4 separate regions of the Homo sapiens genome follow, and regions 1, 3 and 4 are each linked to region 2. The links are contacts of gene promoters, found by promoter capture Hi-C in blood cells and fetal thymus (Javierre and others, 2016). All regions are on one chromosome and are shown on one strand. The core of a region is centred on a gene start or on the middle of the fragment in contact, and the rest is flanking DNA. Distances in the headings are between cores, read along the strand shown. Region 1 overlaps CPNE3 (copine 3). Region 2 holds the start of OTUD6B (OTU deubiquitinase 6B). Region 3 overlaps WWP1 (WW domain containing E3 ubiquitin protein ligase 1). Region 4 holds the start of CFAP418-AS1 (CFAP418 antisense RNA 1).

Evidence for each region. The method cuts DNA at HindIII sites, captures the fragments that hold promoters and counts their contacts. A CHiCAGO score of 5 or more calls a contact.
Region 1: a fragment that was not itself captured here is called in contact with the fragment with the promoter of OTUD6B in region 2 in 4 of 17 cell types (non-activated CD4 T cells, activated CD4 T cells, total CD4 T cells and 1 more); the score reaches 6.5 in non-activated CD4 T cells.
Region 3: a fragment that was not itself captured here is called in contact with the fragment with the promoter of OTUD6B in region 2 in 1 of 17 cell types (naive CD8 T cells); the score reaches 5.1 in naive CD8 T cells.
Region 4: the fragment with the promoter of CFAP418-AS1 here is called in contact with the fragment with the promoter of OTUD6B in region 2 in 1 of 17 cell types (activated CD4 T cells); the score reaches 5.7 in activated CD4 T cells.

What each region holds. Positions count from the first base shown.
Region 1 is chr8:86,518,298-86,525,252 of GRCh38, reverse strand. The region is part of intron 2 of CPNE3 (copine 3); the gene reads right to left. Among named protein-coding and RNA genes, the nearest start is that of CPNE3, 7.3 kb to the right of the region's middle. RefSeq lists enhancers at 1,796-1,845, 1,866-1,965. The HindIII fragment of the contact is 1,670 bases long and covers 2,248-3,917 here.
Region 2 is chr8:91,069,029-91,075,204 of GRCh38, reverse strand. It overlaps OTUD6B (OTU deubiquitinase 6B), which reads right to left and starts at 4,861. Exons shown (of 7, transcript NM_016023.5): 1 at 4,739-4,861; 2 at 3,916-4,067; 3 at 1,294-1,374. The coding sequence starts at 4,820. It overlaps OTUD6B-AS1 (OTUD6B antisense RNA 1), which reads left to right and starts at 5,016. Exons shown (of 3, transcript NR_110438.1): 1 at 5,016-5,274; 2 at 5,383-5,626. RefSeq lists an enhancer at 4,634-4,813. The HindIII fragment of the contact is 11,349 bases long and covers 3,374-6,176 here.
Region 3 is chr8:86,346,532-86,352,654 of GRCh38, reverse strand. The region is part of intron 1 of WWP1 (WW domain containing E3 ubiquitin protein ligase 1); the gene reads right to left. Among named protein-coding and RNA genes, the nearest start is that of WWP1-AS1, 5.2 kb to the right of the region's middle. The HindIII fragment of the contact is 1,760 bases long and covers 3,112-4,871 here.
Region 4 is chr8:95,264,222-95,270,563 of GRCh38, reverse strand. It overlaps CFAP418-AS1 (CFAP418 antisense RNA 1), which reads right to left and starts at 1,728. Exons shown (of 4, transcript NR_038209.1): 1 at 1,674-1,728. CFAP418 (cilia and flagella associated protein 418) reads left to right here and starts at 1,363. Exons shown (of 6, transcript NM_177965.4): 1 at 1,363-1,529. The coding sequence starts at 1,375. It overlaps TRS-AGA2-5 (tRNA-Ser (anticodon AGA) 2-5), which reads left to right and starts at 826; the gene lies at 826-907. RefSeq lists enhancers at 622-701, 738-1,377, 1,332-1,771. The HindIII fragment of the contact is 4,678 bases long and covers 1-4,522 here.

The DNA of each region.
Region 1 (6,955 bases), core at 1,833-4,332, 4.5 Mb after region 2:
CACTTTGGGAGGCTGAGGCAGTAGGATTGCTTGAGCCCAGGAGTTCAAGACCAGCCTGAGCAACAGAGACCTCATCTCTACAAAAACAAAAAATTTTAGGCTGGGCGCAGTGGCTCACACCTGTAATCCCAGCATTTCGGGAGGCCGAGGCAGGTGGATTATCCCAGGTCAGGAGTTTGAGACCAGCCTGGCCAACCTGGTGAAACCCCGTCTCTACTAAAAACACAAAAATTAGCCAGGCATGGTGGTACATGCCTGTAATCCCAGCTACTCAGGAGGCTGAGGCAGGAGAATCACTTGAACCTCAGAGGCGGAGGTTTCGGTCAGTGAGATCACGCCATTGCATTCCAACCTGGGCGACAGAGCAAGACTCCGTCTAAAAAAGAAAGAAAGAAAGAAAGAAAAATGAAAAAATTAGCCAGCCAAGGTGGCATGCACCTGTAGTCCCAGCTACTCAGTAGGCTAAGGCAGGAGGCTCACTCAAGTTCAGGAGTTCGAGGCCACAGTAAGCTATGCACTGCAGCCTGGGTGACAGAGCAAGACCCTGTCGCAAAAAAAAAAAAAAAAAAAATTATGATGAGGAAAAATAAAACAAACGTTTTATACTCTTTTAGTATGAAAGATTTGGCTGGGATAAGTCACCTGGCAAAGAATGCATGAGCAACTAAAGAAGAATTCTATGTAGTATTTTACTCCTTAAAGAGCAGGATAGAAAACACAAATAATCCCTAGGATTAGACAACAGCTTCCCTACTGTACAGATTATTACTTGTTGGACAAAATTTGATCCAAACACGTCTTCTGAAATGCAAATAATCCCTAGAAACACCAAATATATCAATAATTCTCCCAGTCACCCTAACGTTCTGAATCAATATTATAACAGAGATAAACATAAGGAGCTGAGAATTAAGACCTAATATTTAAAGTGGTACCTGATATGTGAAATTTAAGGCATCTGGTCATTCCCATGCCCTGGCTGAAAATCCTGAAGTCTTATCTACTTCCTCTTTTCCCATTCCTCCTTAAACCTACTCTTAGATTTATCCAGTAAAGATGTCATAGAGATTCTGCCTACTAGAACCCCAAATCTCTCCCAAACATGGAGATACAGCCGCTTTCCCATACCCAGAGTCACAACCCTAACTTCAGGTCTTCTGTATCTCTCACCTGCCTTATATAATAGTCTCCTAATGGGTATTCCCACTGCCATTTTCTCTCCATTCACATTATGGTTTTATCACTTCTGATTAAAAAGTGATAGTCCAATGAACTAAGCCTGGAATTCATGGCTCTGCCAACATCTACCCCTAATCTACCTGAACAGCTACCTCTGCCCACCCAAGTTCTTCAAGATCCACTTCAGGCCGGGCACGGTGGCTCACACCTGTAATCCCAGCACTTTGGGTGGGCGAGGTAGGGGGATCACTTGAGGTCAGGAGTTCAAGAACTCAGCCTGGCCAACATGGTGAAACCCTGTCTCTACTAAATATACAGAAATTAGCCAGGTGTGGTGGCAGGTGCCTGTAATCCCAGCTACTCGGGAGGCTGAGGCAGGAGAATCACTTGAACCAAGGAGGTGAAGGTTGCAGTGAGCCGAGATGGTACCACTGCACTCCAGCCTGGGCGACAGAGTGAGACTCTATCTCAAAACAAAACAAAACAAACACTTCAAATGATACTTCATTCATACAGCTGTTGCTGATACCCTGCTGATACCCCTCATGCTGTTATGGCACTGATTCTATTTTCTTTCCACTATTGTTACTTGTATTTGTGGCTCATCACTCCGTCTATATACTGTGAACTGTGGGCAGCGAACATATTTTACCACTTCCTCTTCTTCCTGAAGCATGACATCTGGCACAGGTTATTTGTAGCAGAAAGAGCAATAATGCTGGAGTCAGCGTGTGTCATTCAAATTTCTTTCCCATCACTAATTTGGATGTGTCACCTCTGCCAAATTGTCTATCTGAACTTCAATTTCCTAATTTATAAAATGGGGATATTAAAAAACCCTGACACTAGTCCTTCAATGTAAATAAGGCTAAGAGAGAAAAATAAACTTAATAAAAACCCTGACAACTGTAGGTCTGTAGCATGCTCAGCATATAATAGACACTCTATGAATTGTAGCAATTATTTTATTACTGAGTCAGGGATTTTAATTGATTGTCTCAGCATAGATGGCTTGTTATTAAGTAGTAAGACATAAAGCAGCTTTCTCATCCTTACTTATGAAAAGCTTCTTGAAACAATAATGATTTTTGGGATTTACATAAAATTAATTTGGTGAAATAGTCAGCCTTGAGTATAGATAAGGTACGCAGGTGAGGGGAGCGCAGGCTCATGTCAGTGACTCAAAATGTGTCCTAAAACAATTGTGAAGGAGAAGTCGGTGCCTATCTACAAATCCCTTTAGTAAAGTTCCTTCAGTCTTCAGCTGAAAAATGAAGAGACTGGCCTAATGTAAAAAATTCTCAGAAGTTCTTTCTGGTTCTAATACCATGATTCACTAACTGCTATTCTGCAGTACATCCTGCCTGACCGCTATTGAAAGCAAGCAAGGGCAACCCTGGGGCAGCTGGAACCGGCCCAGCAACATCAGCAAAACACACCCTAGGCAGTGTTTCTCAAATTGTGTTGCTCAGAATAGTAATAAGTGTTCCCCTACTAAAAAAAAAAAAAAAAAAAAAAAAAAAAAGCAGCGGGCGTCAGGTAATATGGCTGTAAATCCAAAGGCTGCTATGCTCCTCAGAGTTCCCAGGTCAGACTAGCAAATGTATTTATTACCAGGTTACTGTAAACCCATTATTTTGCTAAGGACAGCAGGGACATTATACAGCAACAGAAGCGCTTGTAGCTCATTATAATCAAATTGGGGAGACCCATTCATAAAACAATTACTTACTGAATACTTTCTAGGTGTTCCAAAAGTGAGGGTTGGGGGAGGCAAAAACGAAATAAATACTTAGCTACTTAGCTAACTATGTATACATAGAAATAGTATACAAGAGTATAAAATTGTGTGGTACAGACAGGGAACAATCAAAGTGCTCTTGGAGCTGAAGAAGCTCCCCAGAGATTTCTACTTTTACTGACGATTAAAACTATACTCCACTACAAAAAGAATTTGCAGTATTATTGCTACTGACTACCAGATTTCTTTTTCACCCTTACATTCAAGGGTAGACAGTAAGAAAGTGGGGAGTAGAAGAATAAGGGGAAAGAAAAGATAGTTAATAATTCCATACAACTGGACAGATTTTGTTTTTTTTTACAATTTTCAAAGTGCTTCCAAATAATATATTATCTTCTGAACCTTACAAAAACTCTGTGAGTTAGGCAGGATAATGATTACTACATGGTGGAAGGTCCATATGTCACAGGTATGACTATAATATAAGGCACTCCAGTGTCTGAATTGATTGACCCAGAATATGTTGATAATTTTCAGCACATTGTTAATCTTCAAAATAATGCATAGTATATATTAGGAAAAAAATATAAATTTCTTCAAAAAGGTTAAATTACTTACATGGGATCACAAAGCTAGTAAGTGTCACCACCACAGCATAAACCCAGGTATTTTCCCCTTTATGCCAAAATCCCTTCAGAGCACTAAAGCCTCTAATTAATAGTTAATTAGCTGTCAAGTAAAAATAGTATTAGTAAAAATAAATAAACTCCATAGATGTAAACAATTATGATTTTTCAATTAAAAACAATATCAAAAAATAGTTACTTAGTATAACAGCAATATTCTCTATTAATTTCCTTAAGTCTTGTTAATATCAAAAGTAATATTCAGCCTGACACAAATTAATAAAATAGGAACTTTAAAATTACAAGGTTAATACTGAGGCTAAAACTAGTTATATGGTTCTTAAACAAACGTAACCAGAATAACAAAAGCTTGCCAAAGAATGGAAGAACTGGAATGGTTTATATTTTATTTACCTCATAGCAGTTCCTCTTCAAGATAACCCATTAAATTGTAAATTACTTAAGGCTAAGAAAGCAAGTTCTCCTTGCTAGTGTGTCTCTACACACACAGGTCTGCCATGTGTGTAGGTGCCATTAGATCGTCTTAGAGCAGCAACATTTATTCTCAGGAATATACTGCACTTAATATCCAGACTCTGAGAGTAAAAAACTCACATTAAAAGAATTTAAACTACGCTTGTTCTGTATTTAGTAACAAAGTGATGCCCAGATGTATTTTTTTAATCACTACCACAGGATACCAGAAATGAAGATAGGGAATAATGTCAAGCATAAATATACATAAAACAAAACAAAAAAGAAACAAAAAGGAAGAATCACTGGATCAGGTGTCAAAAGAAATGGACTGGGCAGATCACCTGAGGTCAGGAGTTTGAGACCAGCCTGGTCAACATGGCAAAACCCTGTGTCTACTAAAAACACAAAAATTAGTTGGGCATGGTGCACTGTAGTCCCAGCTACCTGGAAGGCTGAGGCAGGAGAATCACTTGAACCCAGAGGTAGAGGTTGCAGTGAGCCAAGATTGCGCCACTGCACTCCAGCCTGGGTGACAAAGCAAGACTCCGTCTCAAAAAAAAAAAAAAAGAAATGCCTGGTTCTGTGTTAGTCACACCACAATGGCAGGCATTTGGGCAACTGCTGTAACTTCTCCAGGCTTCAGGTTTTTTCAGCTGTTAAATCTTTTTTTTTTTTGAGATGGACTTTCACTCTTGTCGCCCATGCTGGAGTGCAATGGAGATCTTGGCTCACTTGCAACCTCCGCCTCCTGGGTTCAAGTGATTCTCCTGCCTCAGCCTCCTGAGTTGCTGGGATTACAGGCGCTGCCATCACGCCCAGCTAATTTTTGTATTTTTAGTAGAGACGGGGTTTCACCATGTTGACCAGGCTGGTCTCGAACTCCTGACTTCAGGTAATCCGCCTGTAATCTGCCCACCTTGGCCTCCCAAAATGCTGAGATTACAGGCGTGAGCCACTGCGCCCAGCCTTCAGCTGTTAAACCTAAGAGTTGAGTCAATCCCTTTCTTTAAGTAATTCTTAAGGTCTTTTCCATTAATGTACTATAACCCTAATTTAATTACAGTGAATATGGAACTTGTTTAGGAAGTGGTACTAAAGGATTTTTTAAAATGAATAGAAAACATTAGAATATTTATAAGTACAAAAAGGAGAAATGGAAGAAAAAGGATAAAGTTTTCCAAACTCAGTCTCCATCTCTATCAAAAAAGCTATATCTGGGGCCAGGTGCGGTGGCTCACGCCTGTAATCCCAGCACTTTGGGAGGCTGAGGCGGGCGGATGGTCTGAGGTCAGTAGTTCAAGACCATCCTGGCCAACATGGTGAAACCCATCTCTACTAAAAATACAAAATTAGCTGGGCATGATGGCGCCCACCTGTAATCCCAGCTACATGGGAGGCTGAGGCAGGAGAATCGCTTGAACCAGGGAGGCGGAGGTTGCAGTGAGCCAAGATCGTGCCATTGCACTCCAGCCTGGGCAAAAAGAGCCAAATTCCATTTCAAAACAAAACAAAAAAAGCTATATCTGAAAAAAATGTATCTAGAAACTTCTCCACTAGTTAGGTACCTTTGCTCAAAATTGTTATTAAGTGCTCAGATGACTTAAATAAACAAACAAACCACAGGGCCCAGTCTATTAAGTAGATGCAGCACAATAAGGAAATAAATTTTATTAGCATCCATGAAATCTCACATTATTAAGCTCTTAGCATCTATCATGGCAGCAAAATAAATCAGCTTTTAGCCACACTTCAAAAAGTTTCCAGATTCTTAAACTATCTTGAGCAGGATCTAAATAGTGATACCATTGCTGATGCTTGGACATGCAGAACGGAGGAAAGCAGGAATTAACAGGTGTGATCACTCTAACTTCAAAAATAAAAAGTAGGTGCAGTTTTACCTTCTCTTTATCATTACAAAGTAAGCAATCAACTAAAGACCCTTCATTAATTTCTCTAAAATCCTGGTATTGTTCTATTCCATGATTCATAACTGGCTACAAAGTTTACTTAACATATGTTTCAGGTTTTACCACTTTTCTAATCCCTTGGCTACTGTATATACATTTTGGAAGTATCACTGATTGTATTTTCAAGTCCATCAATTCAACAGTTCATCATAGGTTCATTTAGTGAGGTATTAATAAAAGTTATTAATAGAAGCAGGGTTGGGCCAGGCACGGTGGCTGATGCTTATAATCCCAGTACTTTGGGAGGCTGAGGCAGGCAGATGGCTGGAGCTCAACAGCAGCCTGGACAACATGGCTAAACCCCATCTCTACCAAAAATACAAAAATTAGCCAGGTGTGGTGGGGTGTGCCTGTGGTCCCAGTCATTCTGGAGGCTGAGGTGGGATTGCTTGAGCCTGGGAGGTGGAGGTTGCAGTGAGCCGAGATCATGCCACTGCACTCCAACCTGGGTGGCAGAGTGAGGTCCCATCTCACAAATAAATAAATAAATATTTTTTTTTAAAAAAGAAGGGCTATCAGAACTTATTAGCTACCTAAGCAGAAAAAATAAAATTAAAGTTAAAAAGTTAAAAATAAGAACTTACTAACATCAGTGTTGCTAAAGTTGGTATACACCCCCTACTGCTAAATTTGACTGGCTTAAGAAAAAAAGAAGCAGTGGTGATGTCTCACTACTGTCCCACTTTATGGAACATGCATCTTGGCAAAGCTGGCTATAAAATACATGTCTACAAAGTGAATCACCGTTTACCCTCAATGAAAATCAGTGCTGCATCCCCTAGCTGAAAATCCCAAGTGTTCAGTTGAAAAGTTTTCCATTATAAGGACTAAGTAAAGCTGCTGGCCAGCTGTGCAGCAGGCAGGCTGGATCTGATATTAAGGTACACCAACCTGTGAAGACTGAAGTCTCCTGGGGTTCTCATTCCCCTCAGACCACATTAAGAATTTCCCCCCTTCTGGAATTT
Region 2 (6,176 bases), core at 3,612-6,111:
AAATAAAATTCTACACAAGAATGAGAAATGTTGGACTATGTGCATTTCATCAGCTTGCAAACAAAAAAAGACATTGCTTTTAGGTTTAATTTTTTAAGAGGCATAGTATGCACTACTTAACACAGAAAAAGACATTGCTTTTAGGTTACATTTTTAAGAGGCATACTATACACTACTTAATATAGAAACAATACTATCATTTGTTGACCCATTAGTTCTCCAGGCCTTGTGTTAAAGGCTTTGGAAATAGTACAGTATTTAATATTCACAATGAATTAGCTTATGAAGTAGCTATAATTTGCCCCCGTTTTATAGATGTGAAACTGAGGCTTAAAGAAGAACCGTACCCAAAGTATAACAGTAAATGAAATTAAAACCTCATCTGTTTGACACTAAACTCCATGCTCTACTAAATTACATACTATGTCATAAGATGCAAAATGAATTTAAAAATATGCATTTAAACCATAGAAAACATCAAGTGTTAATAAAATAATACTCGCAACTAAAAAGACTGAATTTAATCATTTTTCTTTTTCAAATTCAAAGGGACTTACCTATCTAATCTCATTTCCATAATGCTGATATGAACTAGCTACTTCCAATAAATCAGTTTCCTTATAGCTCTTCAATAATGCAATATATCACCCCCACATTTGTTTTTGTGCATGCTGCTCCTCCTATTTGGAATATCCTATCTAAATAATATTTCTTTCAAATTCCAACCCATTATTAGCATAATGAACTTTCCCTTCTCTAAATTTTCATAATTAACCATTATATAGATACCTACATAATTCTCTAAGAATTTTGTATACCTACACATGTTAACTTCTAGGTTCAAATCCTTATTTCTCACCCAATGGTATAGTTCTTGGCTAGGGTTGTGCATCAGAATCCCCTGGGCCCACATTCTGAATTTTTAAGTCTGGGATAATATATTTGTAAAAAAAACTACTTTGCACTCCCACTCCCAGCTTCGCTCTCCTATGAGAGCTGCAACCTGAATACGTTATTTTATATTATCTTAGGATCATTTTCTTCTCCATAAAATGGGGATAAGAAATCCTACTTCACAGGATTATTGTCAGGACTAAATGAGATGTCATATAAGCAGCTTAGCATAGTATGTGACACACAGCAGGTGCTTAATAAATGTTAGTTCAAGTGCCTAGACAAGGAACTGCATCATTTTTTTTTCATTCTCTTCCTATAACAAGACCTAAGATAGTACCTAAGATAGTATTGAACACACAGCACTAACTTATATACTTGGTGACATGACTTTCATACCCGTCTCTTTTGTGCTTTTGATATCCGAGGTGGCTGATTCTCAAGCACCAAGTTTGAAATGTTAACAGCAACAGAATCTATCTGAAGGAAACAAAAAGCATTAACAAGTCAATGTACTTATTAAATTACTGAAAATCATAAATATATCTAATCCCACATTTCAAATTTGAGTAACAGCAATAGACACTGTATTAGATAATATGGTTTTGTCTCCTGTTTCTATTTTTATGGAAGAATTTGACAAGTTCCCAAGAAGTTTCTTTCAAAGATCATGCTCATCCCTGCATGCTTTCCTTCCTTCTTAGAATGCCTACTCCATTAATCTAAATGCAGTACTGTACTTCCTGTAAGCGCCAACTCATTTAGCACTCCACTCTTCTTTTCTCTGACTACTGCCAGTACATATAAGATAAAGGTCCTGTGCTGGCTCAGTTCATTATTACCTGCATAACCTCTACTGGCAGCAGAGGCCTTTTTCCATCTTAATTAGCCAGAACCTGATGAGTACTAATCCTTGACCCTAGTAGCAAGTTGAGCTTTTCCTACCCTACCCTTTTCCATCTACAAACTGATAACTGCAGGCAGAAAATATATTTAATTTGTAATATCATTTGATATTATAATCAATCCTAAATGGCTAGTGTGTGTTTGCTAGAGTAAAAAAAAAGATGCTAGACTTTTAACTATAAGGATGAGTAGCCATTATTACTGCAACTCTAAGGTAAGCCAGTTTTTAGTATAACACATGCATAGAACAACTCAAGGCCTTTAATACACAGAGACAGAAGTCTGCAAAGGCTGTGTCCCAAATGATCAAAATATCAAAATCAGATAGAGACTTCAAAGAGTGGCTATCAACTATAGTGAAATTAGGAGTCCTGTGATTCTTCAGAGGAAGCTGTTAAAATTTACAAACATCTATATTGACAATAGGCAAGATAAAAGAGATGCATCTGAAAAACAAAAAAGCAATGGCATTAGTTTTTGGTAGTATTCAGAAAAGAAAACCAATTTAAATTAATGAAACAGATAAATAGTTCAAACTAAAATGGGAGTTTGTGTTTTAACAGTAGGACTCCATGTAGCTTATGAATCAAACATTTTTGTCCTTGGAAACCTGGGAAAGAAACCTCAAAATGGAAAGGTCTGAGGGAGCAAACAAAACTATCTCATTAATAGAAAAGATGGGGAGACAATTAGGAACACAATTGTCACAACACAATTTAACGCCTGGAGTATCATATATGCCTTGTTACCTGGAGATGAAGTACATTAAAGGCAAGGAAAGTTGGGAACTTGATAACTAACAAAGTTAAAGAAATTTAGACTATATTTAATGTAAGGACCATTATAAAAAGCACAGACAAGCTGTACTTGTCAACAGCAAACCAAAAATCAACCAAAATTTAAGTATGGCAGATTAAGATTTTACATAGACATAAGAACTTTCTATCAAAGATGGAGTGAGGTTGTGGGGTCTATATGACCCTTCATATCCAAAACCCATACAATAAATACCACACTATACAAAGCTGTAACAGAATTCAGTATTCACTTCCTGGAGTAAGATAGTTCTCATTTGGAATTCTGGCTTTGGCAATCAACAGCTGTTACGACTCCTGGACAAAGTTCTTAATCTCTCTAACCCTGTTTCCCACTTGAAAAATGGGATTATGTATACTTACTTCATAGGTAATACCTCACAGTGTGTTACTGAGGTTAAATGAGATAATACATATAAACCAAAGTATTTGACACATATATATTAGATCCAACGATAAAATAAATATTAGTTAAAATTATGAAAGTTAGGATGCTCCAACTTACCCAAGAAACATCAGTAAAATTTCATTCATTACAACTTGTTAATAAAGCACTTTTATAACAAAAATGACTTCACGTTCACTTTCTTGATTCTTACAAAAACCTGTGCTTAGAGTGTAGAAATATTTGTATCGTATTATATATGTGGGAAAATTTGAGCTCAGAAAGATTAAGTAACCTTGCTCAGGTTACAATCCCATTCAGTCGCAATTCTGGGATCAGATGCCTGGTCTTCCAACTTTGATTTGGTGAAGCTTCATCTTTTGGGCAAGTAAATAGGTAAAGAAGTATAGCACTTTCTTTGCCGATCTCCCTTATAGAAACACACTGCCCTGTAAACTTGGTCACAAAAACATTAATGAGAAGTGATGCATGAGCATAACTAAGTGATTTCATTTCCCTACCAATTTTATGATTTTAGATAATAAACAGTTTAACAGGGCCGGGCACGGTGGCTCACGCCTGTAATCCCAGCACTTTGGGAGGCCGAGGCGGGTGGATCACAAGGTCAGGAGATCGACACCGTCTTGGCTAACATGGTGAAACCCTGTCTCTACTAAAAATACAAAAAATTAGCCGGGCGTAGTGGCGGGCGCCCGTAGTACCAGCTACTCGGGAGGCTGAGGCAGGAGAATGGCCTGAACCCGGGAGGCGGAGCTTGCAGTGAGCCAAGATTGAGCGTGTTTTGCAAAGCGAGACACCGTCTCAAAAAAAAAAAAAAAAGCAGTTTAACATTTAACAGAAGTGGACAGCTGTTTTCAAATGGTGTAGGCAACGACAAACATTTATTTCACATACCTTATTCTCCTTAGTAGTCAGCTTCAATTGCTCCAGTTCCTCTCTATGTTTCTGTTCCATTTCTTTTTCCAACTTGGCCACATCTTCGGTGAGTTGCTTCCTCCTCTTCTTGTCATTCTTGGGAACAGCATTCTTCATGCCCTGAATTTTGGCTGAAAAGCCATTAAAATCATTAAGTCAGACACGCAGGAGTAAAAGGAGATGAGAAACAGGAACCAATAAGGGGATGGTAACGGGCGAAGGGTACAGAAAAAGTAATTATGGAAGAAAGAGTCATCACGTAACAGGCAGCTACAGAGAGAGAAGATCCCAGATAAAGCTGAGACCAAAAAAAAAAAAAACTTCATTAACAAAATCTTGAATATGTTTCGGTTGTTTGGCGAGATAAGAGAAGGAAAAAAACCTGACTGTAGCCAGTTTTAAATCTTTCCGGTATCCTTTCTGAACCTCCTAAACTGAGGCGGGTCCATTCAAAATACACCCATTAGGGACAAGTATCGGTAACTGGGGCAGGTATAGAAAAGGGAGGCATCGTGGGTTTGGGAGCGGACCAAGACGGCGGCTTCTAGGTATTTTCAGACACCTGCACCCCGGCGGCGGCGCGGGGTAGGGGGCACGCCGCAGGCCTCAGAAGGGGAAGCCTCTGAAGGTTGGGGAATTAAAGGGCCGCCGGGGTAGGTGAAGAGAGAAGAGGCCACTTGCTACTAGGGGAAGTCTAGGGTGATCCAGATAAGTCACGCCTTGAGATTCCCCAGAATCGACCCGCCACGCGCCCTTCCCCCAGTCGCGGCGGCTTCCAGATTCCCACTTCCTTCCGCCTCACCTTGCAACTCCTTCTTCTCTTTGCGATGCCTTCTCAGCAGCTGCTCTTCCTCATCAAGCTCTTCGGTCAATACCGCCTCCATGACGACCAGGTACCCCAGCACACGCGCTAGAAGAAACCTGCACCGGCTAGTAGGCACCTTCCACCCCTCAACCCTCACCCGGGGCTCCATTGGCTACGGCTGGGACCCAGCCCCGCCTTCAAGGCGGCACCGGATCTAAGCAAAGCCACTGCAAAGACGAGAAACTTAAATGGGGTGCTGCGCGTGCGCGCTACCGTGACCCTGCCGTGATGGGCGGGGCGGCAGGGGAGGAACCAGACTGCGAGCGGAGAAGCGGAGTTTGCAGCCTCGGAATTGGCTAGAGCGCCAGAGCCGAGTCAGCCATAAAGCTACGCGCTAGGCTCTTGGCCCTGACGTGAGGCGCGCAGAGATGGCGTAACGGGAATAGTTTTCAACGTCTATTTCATTCCCTGCTTCAGAGGACCTCTTTAATCTTTGATTTTGGTCCCTGTTTCTAAGAAAAGCAACTGAAAAGGTAAGAAAGAAAAATAACGCATTTTAATAAAGCCGTCGATAATTATCAATGGGAATCTTTGGGCTGTTTGGGGCTGTGTGGAATTAAATTATGTTTATTGTCTCCAAGGTCGTAATACCGCCCCTGAGAAAAAAGGAGCAGCGCTAAATAATCGAGAAAATGCCTCCTCTTGAAACGGATATAGAGATGGAAACAAGATATAAGAAGGATTGAGAATCATATAATACAGGAGCTTAAACACCTATGCGCGATGATAAAGAGGGTACTATTAGAGCGCTTGGAAAATACCAGGAAGTTGAGAGAGTTAACAGAAGGGCGCACGCTGGATTGGCCACAAAATCGAATTACTGAAGTAAGTGCAAAACGACAAATTGTCACAGAATACAGAGAAAAGGGGAAAAGAAATTAAGAGGAGAAAAAGAGAGATCTAGAGGGCCGGTCCAGGAGATACAATCTATGCATAATAGGAATACCTGAAACTGAGGACAGAGCAAGTGGAGCTGAAACAATAAAGGATCTACTTGAAAAAATTTTCCAGAATTGAAGAACGAACTAGATCTACAAATGGAAAAGGCTCATAGGATACCTTTAAAGTTTAATGAAAAGAAAGCAGCATCTAGACATATCCGGGTGACGTTTTTGAATTTCAAAGACGAAACATTTTACAAGCATCCAGTCAGAGAAAGCAGGTTACTTACAAAGGGGCAAAAGTCAGGCTGACCTCAGATTTTTCTCCTGCAATTCTAAATGCCAGAAGACAGTGGAACAATATCTAGAGTGTTAAGGGAAAATAATTTTGAGCCAAGAATTATATACTCTGCCAAGTTATCATTTCTTTACAAAGGAAACTGGAAGACATTCTTAGATATACAGGGGTTAGGAAAGTATATCAACCAAGAACT
Region 3 (6,123 bases), core at 2,742-5,241, 4.7 Mb after region 2:
GCTCATAACTTTAATCCCAGCACATTGGGAGAGAGGGCAAGGTGAGAGGATCACTTGAGTCCAGGAGTTCAAGACCAGCCTGGGAAATAAGGTAAGACCCCCATCTCTAAGAAAAATAAAAAATTAGGCAGGGCACGGTGGCTCATGGCTATAATCCATCCCAGAACTTTGGGAGGCCAAGACGGGTGAATCACTTGAGGCCAGGAGTTCGAGACCAGCCTGGCCAACATGGTAAAATCCCGTCTCTACTAAAAATACAAAAATTGGCTGGGCCTGGTGGCATGCACCTGTAATCCCAGCTACTCGGTAGGATGAGGCACAAGAATCATTTGAAACTGGGAGGGAGAGGTTGCAGTGAGCCGAGATAGCGCCACTGCACTCCAACCTGGGTGACAGTAAGACTCTGTCTTAAAATAAATAAATAAATAAATAAAAATAAAAAATTAGCTAGGTGTCGCGGCACACACCTGTACTCCCAACTACTAGGGAGGCTAAGGTGGGAGGATCGTTTGAGCCCAGGAGGTTGGTTAAGGTTGCAGTGAGCCATGATCTTGCCACTGCACTCTAGCCTTGGGTGACAGAACAAGACCTTTTCTCAAAAAAAAAAAAAAAAAAGGAATATTTTAGCTAGCTAGCTAGAAAAATGAACTCTGACAGAGCACACTAGGACCCCAAATAACCAATTCAGTTTCTACCAACAGTTCTCAAACTAATGTGCATAAAATCTCTTGAGATATTTGCAAAAAATGAAGATCCCTAAGCTCCACTCTCAAGGACCATATCAGAGATCTCAAAGGATACTCAAGAATCAACATGTTTAATAAGCATCCCAGACGACTGTTATATAAGGATTGCGCTTTGACAAACACTGGTCAATACAATATTTCATCTAATGATGGTGTTAATGATTTCTTGTTCCCAGGCTGCACAGCAAAACCATCACTAGCTGATATATTGCCAGCCATGTTAAGTCAGTATCCCAGATTTCGTGCTTACCCTTTTAGCAACTTTTTTTTTGTTTATTTGGCCAGGCCTGGTGGCTCATGCCTGTAAATCCCAGCACTATGGGAGGTCGAGGTAGGGGGGATCACTTGAGCCCAGGAATTCAAGACCAGCCTGGGCAACATCTCTACTAAAAAAAAAAAAAAACTAGCTGAGCATGTTAGTGCGTAACTGTAGTCCCAGCTACTTGTGGGGCTGAGGTGGGAGGATTGCTTGAGCCCCCGAGGTCAAGCCTGCTATGAACCATGATCACACTATTGCTCTCTAGCCTGGGAGACAGAGCTGTCGGAGACCCTGTCTCAAAAAAAAGCTGGGGGTGGAAATTTGATAAGGAGCTCTGCCCATGCCAAAACGAAGCTAGAACTGTCTTTGAGAAATGAGTAGCTCACAGCAAAGTGAATACTTGTTTGAATTTTCAACTTCATAATACTGAATTACGAGCAATAAACATGATTTAAGGGCTTACGTTCTAGCCACCATGCTTTCTGCTTTATAAACATTATTTCAATTAATCCTTACAAAAATCCATTAAGGATGGTATTCTTTACATTTTACAAAAGAAGAAACTGAGGCAATCCTGCCATTAAGCAATACTACCAGAAGTCAGGTCTGCCTGACTTTAAACTGTGACTCTTAACCTGTATGCCAAAAGTGCCTCTACCGTTAAAAACTTAAAAAGAGAAGAACAATCTAGTTTGTTTACTTCTAAGGTAAAGAATATCCTACTTTATACAAAACAGGTTCATTTAACTAATTCTCCTCCCCAGTCTAACTAAACACAGACAAAAAGTAGGACATCTTGGCAAGTTGGGGCTAATGTGTAACCACAGTATCCTAATTTCAAGTCAGGACTCAACAGTCAGCTTCCACCCAGCCCAGTCAATCAGATTTATGAGTATACTGAACAGCTATCAAAAGAACTTGTTTTCCTTGTTTCCTAAAAGGCTATCATACCTACATTCTGTTAATGCTAGGATATTTTTTAACTACCCAAATAATTTAGGGTAGGGAGGACAGCCATCAAGAAGCACCTTCATGTAACTCTATCCGTGCCCTTCTTTGTGCCCTGGCCTTTCCTATTTCTATAAATCATGTTTCTCAGTACATCCAATTACCAAACTCCTCCCCGCAACAGCCAATGTACTATTTTCAGAAATTTGCAAAGAGATTTGCATTAGGATGCAGGGGCCCGTTTTTTAGTGTACATGAAATGCTTCAAAAATGCTTCGCAGCTATGCACTAATAACCTAAATTCTTAAAATGAAATGCATTCACTACTCCACTCAGAAGCTATAATGTAATAAAAACTAAACACTCATTTTCTTCATTTCACCTTTAACCATGGCATTACTTAGCAGCCAACTTGAACTAAAAACAAACAAACAAAAAATACTGCTAAGACTAAAATAAAGCGATAGTGGATAAGGTTAAGTGATAATGCGAGAAAAACCCAGATAGCAATCAATGAATCTACCTGTTCTTGGAAAGGAGAAGCAGCACCTTATTCATTGTATTTCCATAAGAGAGGATTACCATTCCAGTCTCTAGAAGGAAAGAGAATTCTCTCCACTATAATGACACCTCTCCAAGGAAGAGTAGCTTATCCCAAGCTTTTTCAAGACACTGCAAACAGAAAATGCCATTGGGGCTTGGAGCGCGTGGGGGACAGGTTGCTCACTCTGGTCAAGGCCAGAGTGATAGTCAAGAAACCCTTCTCCCCTAGGTCTCAAATCCAATCACAAGGGCAGAGGGAATCGATCTCTGCCCATCTGTGGCCCATTTTCTGCATGGGATGCTGTCTGTTCCAATTCACGAGATCGGGTAAATCACTACTTCCAAGCAGCATGGACTCTTGGGTCCTGTACTTTGTTAGATCCCACTGCCCTCAAGCAGAAGGCAAGTCAATCCTACCCTATTATGGTGGCACACTAGGAAAAACCTCAGAGGCCACAAATGTTCTCCTCTTTTCTAACCAAGGAGAGTGCTAGGTATTCCCATTTGCGTAGTAAGCCAGATGTGCTGTCATTTGCACTTTTTAGACTCAGCTTTCCCTGTGGCATGCTCAGACTCAAAATCCAGATTTGCGGAAAGTAGTAAGCTGCCTAAGCTTCAGCTTCCAAAACAGTTTTCCGTAAGTCCTGTTTTGGTATAGTAAAGCTGATGTTATACTTAAATAAAATTTATGGTAATCTGTTACATGGGTGGCCCCAAATGGATTCACACATTTGTACCCTTGAACCTGGGCTAGATTTGTGACTTGCTTTAACCAGTATAATAAGGCAGAAATGATACTGTATCCCTTACAAGTCTAAACCTTAAGAAGATCTGGTTGCAGACCAGGCACGGTGGCTCACGCCTGTAATCCCAGCACTCTGGGAGGCCGAGGCGGACAGATCACCTGAGCTCAGGAGTTCCAGACTAGCCTGTCCAACATGGTGAAACCCCATCTCTACTAATACAAAAATTAGCTGGGCATGGTGGTGCACGCCTGTAATCCCAGCTACTCGGGAAGCTGAGGCAGGAGAATTGCTTGAACCTGGGAGGTGGAGGTTGCAGTGAGCCAAGACTGAGCCACTGCACTCCAGCCTGGGTGACAGAGTGAGACTCCCTCTCAAAAAAAAAGATCTGGTTGCTTCTGTTTTGTACTCTTGTGAGCCCTAAGCCATCAGCTACCAGGTAAGGCCAGCAACTCTGCTGGAAAGGCTACTTGGAGAGAAAAGCAGCCATTAGAGTGATCACCAGCAAAACCTGCCCAACTGAGCCCAACCCAGGAAAGCAAAACTGTAACAAAGAAAATGGTTGTTTTAAGTCACTTGGTTTAGGGCTGTTTGCTACACAGCAGTACATAACTGAAACAACACTCACCTGGTTCCTTGTGTGTTCTGCATAATTTGTTCAAACCCCAGAAAAAGGAGAGGTATAATTAATTACACTCCGCAAAATTACAACCTGAGAAGATAAAGTTCTATGCCCTTGTTAATGTTAGTGATTCCACTAAACTCCAGGTTCCAAGAGGAAAGGCTTCATATCTGTCATCTCAACACTGTACTCCCAGCACCTAGAAATATGTCTGGCACATAGTAGGTACGCCAGTATGTGCTGTGAGTGAACTGTAGATTTAAGAAATGTCAAGACGGCCAGGCGTGGTGGCTCATGCCTGTAATCCCAATACTTTGGGAGGCTGAGGCGGGCAGATCACCTGTGGTCTGGAGTTCAAGACCAGCCTGACCAACATGGAGAAACCCCGTCTCTACTAAAAATACAAAATTAGCCAGGTGTGGTGGTGCATGCCTGCAATCCCAACTACTTGGGAGGCTGAGGCAGGAGAATCTCTTGAACCCAGGAGGCGGAAGCTGCAGTGAGCCAAGATTGCGCCATTGCACTCCAGCCTGGGCAGCAAGAGGGAAACTCCGTCTCAAAAAAAAAAAGAAAAAAGAAATGTCAAGACTAAATCAACAAATGCTACTCTTCCTTATAACTTAAAAACCATGCTAGTCTTCCTTATAACTTAAAAACCATCTGACGTATGGTTTTACATTATACATTCCCTAAAAAAGTTGTTTAAATGTATGAATTGAAGCATCCACTAAGGAGGGCTTTTTAATATCTTTGGGTTTTTTTCAATGGTAGAGCTTATGATCTAATACAAAAATAATAAAATATCATGATACAGGTTGAGTATCCCTAATCCAAATATCCAAAATCTGAAATACTCCAGTGAATGTTTCTGTTGAGTAATGTAGGTGGCTCAAAGTTTCCCATTTTGGAGCATTTCAAACTTTGAATTAGGGATACCCAATCTATATATATTTTGGAAATTAGATCCTCATTTATATCCTCAAAAAATGTAAATTTTTGAAGACTAAGCTTTTATAAAAGGGAAACACAAACTTCATCTGTAAAAGCAACAGAATTAAATTCAAAATTTTCAAAAAAATAAATATCTACATTTCACCAATGTACTTTTCCAGATAAGAAATCAACTTTTGCTTTATCCTTGACAGGAGAATAACTATTCTGTGGTACAATGCTTACAAATTTAAATATCACCTACCAATAGCCACTGCAGTGAGATTACCATTTTAACACAAAGGAAAAAACTGACAAGTTTACCTCTACACGGTACAAAAGTTTAACACATTCCAAACAGGTAAATTCAAATCCTTCACATACAGCTCTTAACTAATGATGTTCCATTGTACATGAAGAGTAAGAAGTCTGGTGGGAAAAGAATACTGACATAGGAACAAAAATAAGGGTTTTAGTTGTAGTTCTAATTGTGGCCACTAACTAGCCACATACTTTGGAAATTTAACTTTTTAAACTTTTTTTTTAGCCTCAGCATATTCATCCAAAAAGCAATGATTGGCTGGAAGCGATGGCTCACGCCTGTAATTCCAGCACTTTGGAAGGCCATGGTGGGAGGGCCACGAGTCCAGGAGTTCGAGGCCAGCCTGAGGAAACACAGCAAGACCCCATCTCTATAAAAAATTTTAAAAATTTAGCTGGGTGTCATGACATACACCTGTAGTCCCAAGTACTTGGGAGGCTGAGGTCTAGGCTTCAGTTTAGCCATGACTGTGCCACTGAACTCCAGCCTGGGCAACAGAGCAAGACCCTGTCTCAAAAATAAATAAATAAAATAAAATAAAATAAAATATAAAGCAGTTATTACTTCCTAACACACCAACTTATCAGTTGTCATGAGAACCAAATGATAAATATAGTTATTATTTACAAATGTGAAATGCTATACTAACATAAGGTATAGTACAATTCTTAATGCCAGCAAAAACAATAAAATTCATCTGTGTATGTTTTTATCATTTTTCCTCCATTAAGTATTAGTAACTAGTTCCTTGGATACCACTATAAAGGGCAATTTATTGGATTTTCCAATGCTCATTATAATTGTATCATATTTTTATACAAAGAGTAAAAAACAACAGTCTTTCTAATAATTATGAAATCAAAGTTTATTAACATGTAATAACATGCTATGATTACCTATTACCAGGGAGATAATCTTACAGGTGCAGAAAAGTCAACTGTTTACCAATCGCACTACACTTTAACCGTACTAGCTAGCTACTTAATCCACCCAAAAAAAATTGAGTAGGA
Region 4 (6,342 bases), core at 479-2,978, 4.2 Mb before region 2:
TTTGCATAATTTAATATTTAATAATAATTGCATTTAACAACTAGCTCCCAAAATCCTTGAAAATTTATCACTGGGTAGGAGTGAGCATGTCCCATTGGCTCCAGCACACCACTACATGTTGCTCTTCAGGGACCTTAAAAGATACTTTGAACAAACAAATCATCTGGATCAAACTATCTCCAGAGTTCCCAAGGGTGCCAACCTCTTTGCTACCCCACTTTAGAAATACCCAAAACACAGGTTAAACTATGCACAGTATTTATTAAGAATGCCATTTACAATACCTTACACTTGTATCACGCTTTACACTTTTCAAAGTAGTGCTTTTATGGCACGGTGGGACTGTCTGACCCTGCAGAGTGAATTTAAATCGCTGGGTAATAGCTTTTTAATGTATAATGGGTGAAAAGATAGTCCTGGGAGCCGTTTGTCAAAGAGAAAGGCGAAGGAGTGGAACTGGCAGCCCCACAAGGAAGTCGGGAAGCTGGTTGGCCCCTACCCGGTTCCTGGTTCTCTCCTGGAAATGGCTCCAACATTGTGCAAGCAAGTGGGTGTGCAATAGTTTTGAGCACGCATCTCTCTCTCTGTCTCTCTCTCTCTCTCTCTCGGATTTAATTAGAATTTCCGTTTTTTCCAACAAAGAGTTGGACGGGATACGTTCTAAGACTTTTACAAACTGTAAAATGATGAGCGAGGTAACATTCAAATATGCTCTTAACAGAACAGCTCAGTAATGGTTTCCTCCACATCAAAACGTGCCTATTGCTGCAGCAGACGCTTATGCAGAGTCTACATGCACTCTCACCGCAAAAATTCACACAGCCAGTAGTCGTGGCCGAGTGGTTAAGGCGATGGACTAGAAATCCATTGGGGTCTCCCCGCGCAGGTTCGAATCCTGCCGACTACGGGAATGTCAGCTTTTTGCCGTCAACACTTACTTTTTGTGTTTTAGAGCGTTCTGCTCAAACCTTCCACAGATTTCAGGAATTTACAAACGGCTGAAACACAACAGGGACCCAAACGGGAGAGGAGAGAATGAAGGGGCGAGAATGCGTGCTTGTGGTTACAACGTGGGCCCGGGAGGGGGAGACGGGAGGAACCACGCCAGACATGCTGAAAGGAAGAAACGCAAAGCATCGCGAGTCACACAGACACACTGCAGAGACAGCTCCGAACTCTGTCCCTGCATACGCCCGCCCCTCACGAACCCACCGCGTTCTCTGCCGCGAGCCCTCGTGGGCGCCGGGTTGCCACGGGAAGCGGTGCGCATGCGCGGGGACGCCTAACGGGGCAGGAGCCCGCCAGGTCCCCTCGTTACTCCTGGAAACCACCGGAGCCTTGGCGATTGGAGGGGAAAAGGCCAGGCGATTCAAGATGGCGGAGGACCTGGACGAGCTCTTGGATGAAGTCGAGTCCAAGTTTTGCACACCTGACCTTCTAAGACGGGGTATGGTCGAGCAGCCCAAAGGCTGCGGCGGCGGCACCCACAGTAGCGACCGGAACCAAGCCAAGGCGAAAGAGACGCTCAGGTTAACCGGGCGGGAGGGGTGGACTGTTCTGGTAAAGCCCTGCTCCAGGCCCTAGAGCTGCCCCTCCGCCGCCCAACCCAAAAGAAACGTGCCCGCGACCTCCAGCCCCTCCTTGCATCAGGGTTCAGACCCTCAGCGCCCTACCCTCCGCGGCAGCGCATTCGTCGACCCTCTTCGCGGATTCTGGCACCTCTTCACTCAGCGCAGACTCCGCCCCCCGGCATGCCCCAGAGGGCTGGCCCCCGCCCCGCCCCGCCCCGCCCCGCCCCGCCCCGCCCCGCCCGCAGAGCCCGCAGTCCGCGCCAGTCTCCTTCATCCTGTTTCTGGCTGCCAGCGCGTAGGAGGTTCTAGTCGGGGACCGGGATACCCCTCAGGCGCCCCGTTCTTAACCCCGAGAGGGCTGTGCTGACCTCGGCCGCATTTTGCCTCTGTGTGGCCAAGCGGTTCTCATCTCCCTGTGAGGTGCCCTGTTAGACAGCCTCATCCCATTGCCTCAGACCCCACTCCCCAGGTCAATCCTATTTGTCTTTAGCTCAGTTTTGTTGTTTTGTTTGTTTTTTGAGATGGAGTCTCGCTCTGTCGCCCAGGTTGGAGTGCAGTGGCACGATCGTAGCTCACTGCAGCCTCCAACTCCCGGGTTCAAAGATCCTCCCACCTCGGCCTACCCTAGCTGGGATTACAGGCACGAGCCTGTAATCTGGGATTACGTAAACTGGGATTACAGGCACGAGCCCGGTTAATTTGTATTTTTTGTAGAGACAGTCTCACTGTGTTGGCCAGGCTGGTCTTGAACTCCTGAGTTCAAGCTGTCCTCCCGCCTCTGCCTCCCCTAACTGCTAGGATTACAGTTGCGAGCCATCGCACCTGACTCAGTTTGTTTTATTTTTTTAACTCAGGGAGTTAAGATGAGATTAAATTCATTACAAAAGGGTTAATTATTGTGAACATTAAACCGTCTACCTTCCTTCTCTCCATGGCCCCCTAGTTAAGGGTGCCAGACATACATATGGAAATTTAAGGACATTTCTTAAGGTATTTTGGTTTTTTATCTAAAAACTACCTTTCAAATTTACCAGTCGTTTTTCCTCCATGTAATTATTAAATAATAGGATTTCCTTCACTTCCTCATTTCCCCCACAACCCCTCAAAAAAAAAAAACAAAATGTTTGCATAAGAATATTGACCTTCAGTAACTCTTGCTAGAATCTTTTGGAAATTGCCTCTTGCCTAGAATATTTTGGAAACGCTTGTGAAATTACACGGAGGCAACTTTGGATCAATCTAAGAACGTCATCTCCGTTAATTTTTTTGCTGCATCTTTGGTTTGGTTTTGGTTTTTTGGTGTGTGTATGTGTGATTTCCCAAAGTATTATCCAACTCTGTTACTATCCAGTTCACCTGGCTTACCTCCAGTGATATTTATTTATTTTATTTACTTATTTATTTATTTTTGAGTTTCGCTCTGTCGCCCAGGCTGGAGTGCAGTGGCCCACCTCAGCTCACTGCAAGCTCCGCCTCCCATTCCCCTGCCTCAGCCTCCCGAGTAGCTGAGACTACAGGCGCCCGCCACCACGCCTGGCTAATTTTTTGTATTTCTGGTAGAAACGGGGTTTCACCGTGTTAGCCAGGATGGTCTCGATCTCCTGACCTCGTGATCCACCCACCTCGGCCTCCCAAAGTGCTGGGATTACAGGCATGAGCCACCGTGCCCAGTCAGTGACATTTATTTATAAAAATTCACTCTGCGAAGATAAAAGCATCGAAAAAATTCTAAAGGAGTACATAAACAAAATTTCTAAAAATTAGTTGAGTTCTGAGCAGCATTTTAAAACAAAAATTAGAAACAACTATAATTACTATGAATGGGCTAACACTCATTTGGCTGGATGTTGTAAATATCACTCTCATTAACTTTTATTATCTTGTGTACTGGAATTCCTTATGTATCTATTAGCGCATCTACCATCCCTATCCCACAACAGTGTTGCTTTGCAATTTCTTTAGTACTTTTCGTTTGTCCTTCTAGGGGATAGAACTAGTCTATCAAGGAGCTTTTCAGAGCTGTTCATCTTAGGAGAACTAGCATGCGGAGGGGCAGGATGTATTGAAGCCAGCTGCTCAAAATGGAAAGGACTATTTATGTGGATCTTCTCCAACCATGGGTTGTGTCATGCCTGTTCTTGCTCTACTAAAATTCATCCATAATATTTCTAGTACCTCAGCCCACCTTAATACATTAGATTTTTTTAGTACTAAGTAACATAAAAGCCTTAGTGAAACAGTACTGTTGTCATTTATATTAAAACTTTTCATCTGGCAATGTAGTTGTAAATTGTACAAAAAACAGCAACAAAGGGCCTAAACCTTATACCAAATATAGTCCCAACCTGGTTTATAATGTTATATATTAAAATTTTTCCTTGAGCCAAAATTTATACTTAAAAGCTAGGAAGCAATTTATGTTTGAATTTATTGACAGGAGATTACCTACTAATTGTATAGCAGTGTAACCTGTATCTCTTATAAGAGTTAAAATACTAATATTACCTCTTAAAATGATACTATAAATGCAAATAATACTATAAATGACCATGCTACATCTGGATACCAGGAACAACTGCTAATGTAAGAGGTCAAAACATGCAATTTGTTGAAGTGTTCAAAATGATAAAAAGAAATATGTGATTAGTAAAAAAATTAAAAAAGACTGATGTGGGTTGAGAAGAACTGCAATAGGAATAAAGTGGTTCAGGATGATACAGATGGGAATATTTAAAGATAATATAGCTTTCTAGATGATAACTATAATAACAGCCAACATTTATTGAGCTCTTTCTGTATGCTAAGTGCTTTGTATATGTTATTTCATTTAATCTTCACAATCCCATGCGTGAATACTGTTATCCCCATTTCATTGACCAAATCAATGCTTAGTTACTTGCCTAAAGTCATATTGCTAAATCACAAGGACATAGTAGATCTAGATTTAAGCTTTCTATATAATACCTCTCACATTTAATTATAGGTTTAAGTGTTTATATTTTATCTTAAATATATGTTTTATTTTCAGCAGAAACTATATCTTTAAAAGATTAGAATGTCAGAAACAGAGTCAGAAAGGGAACCAGTAAAAGCTTATTAACATTTGATTGAGATTATTGTCACATCAAAAGACCAAAAAGAGTCTTATACAGTCCTTTAAAATTATGAGTTCTCAATGAAATGTTGACTTTATTGTTATTACTATAGCAAAGCATAGGCAAGTGTAGGCATTTTGAAATTGTGTGATCTAAGAACAGACCAGAATCTTATGTAAGCTGGTAATTTGGATCTGTAACAGTACTGATTAGGTTGGTGGAGTTTGGATGTATCTGATTCTTGAAATTGTGAAATTGCATGAGGGAGGAGAACCCGGAAAGTATGTCCTGAAAGCCAAAGGAGAGAATTTTAAGAGGACATCTTAGCAACCTCTTATCGAAAAAGAAATATAAGGAATTGGTACCCAACAGTGTCAGATGCTTCTGAAAGATTAAAGAGGATTGGAACTGAGAACCACCATTAGATTGTAGTGATTTGGGCAGTGGAAACCTTCGAGAGAAGAGTTTCACTATAGTTGAGGGATTAGAGGCCAGAAGTAGAATATTATACCTGAAAGAAATTTTAAATAGTCATCTAGATATCATTTTTATAGATAAAATATTTGAGTTTCAGAGAGATTAAATAATTTAAACTAAGTCGGTATCTCTAGACTGGTGATGATTTTGCCACCCAAGGGGCATTTGGCAATGTCTGGAGACATTTTTTATTGTCGCACCTGGGGAAGGGTGTGCTATTATTTAATAGCATCTAGTGGGTAGATGCTGTAAAATGTCCTGCAATATACAACAGTCTCCTGCCCCCACATACACACCCCAGAGAATTATCTGACCCAAAATGTCCATAATTCCAAGGCTGAGAAACCCCCGCCTAGGATTAGCACCCAACTGATTCTAAATCTAGTCTACTTGTAAGGAAGTAGAAATCGTGGATATAGACTATTCTTCAGTAGTGAGTAAGAAAGGGTGGCAGCTTCAAGACAGGGGTTTTTTGAAGTGTCTCTTTGAAGAAGCAAGCCTTGAGCATACCTCTAAGTCAAAGGAAGAAACCAGTATACAGTGAAAGACATTAAGGGTAAAAGTTACAGTACAACTGAAGAGGCTAAGCCTGGAGACAGAATCAACCATTAGGTAGTAGGCAGCCGTCTCTTGCTTTTCTTATATCAGGTTAAATTATTTTACTCCAAGATGTAATGAAGAAGGCCTATGTTAAAAATTGTCAGAGTAAATACATTTCTGAAATTAGAGAGTTTGACTAAAAAACTTGTCTTCTAAAACAAATAATTTAATGAAGTTATAAAGTTGATGTACAGCATCTACTTCATACAAACGCTAAAGAAAGTTAATCTTGTATAGTATTAAGTGCACGGACTGCCCTAGATTCAATTCCAAGCCTTTTCTCCCACTACTTATATGACCTTGAACAGATTTCTGAATCTCTCAGTGCCTTTTCTTCATCTATAAAACTGGGGTTAAATAAAGATATACTCATGTAAAGACTAAGGACAATGCCTGGGTTATAGTAAGTATTCAGTAAATACTTACTATTTAGTTATTAGCTATTTAGCATCAGCTATTAAATAGAAGTTCTATGCAGTAGTGGTTTATATTAATAATCCAGTGATGGCTTTGCCTGCAGAAGGTAGAGGTAGTTGAGTAGTTGAGATATTCTGTCTAACAAATAGCACCTTTTTTTGGGGTGGAGGTGGTCATTTGAT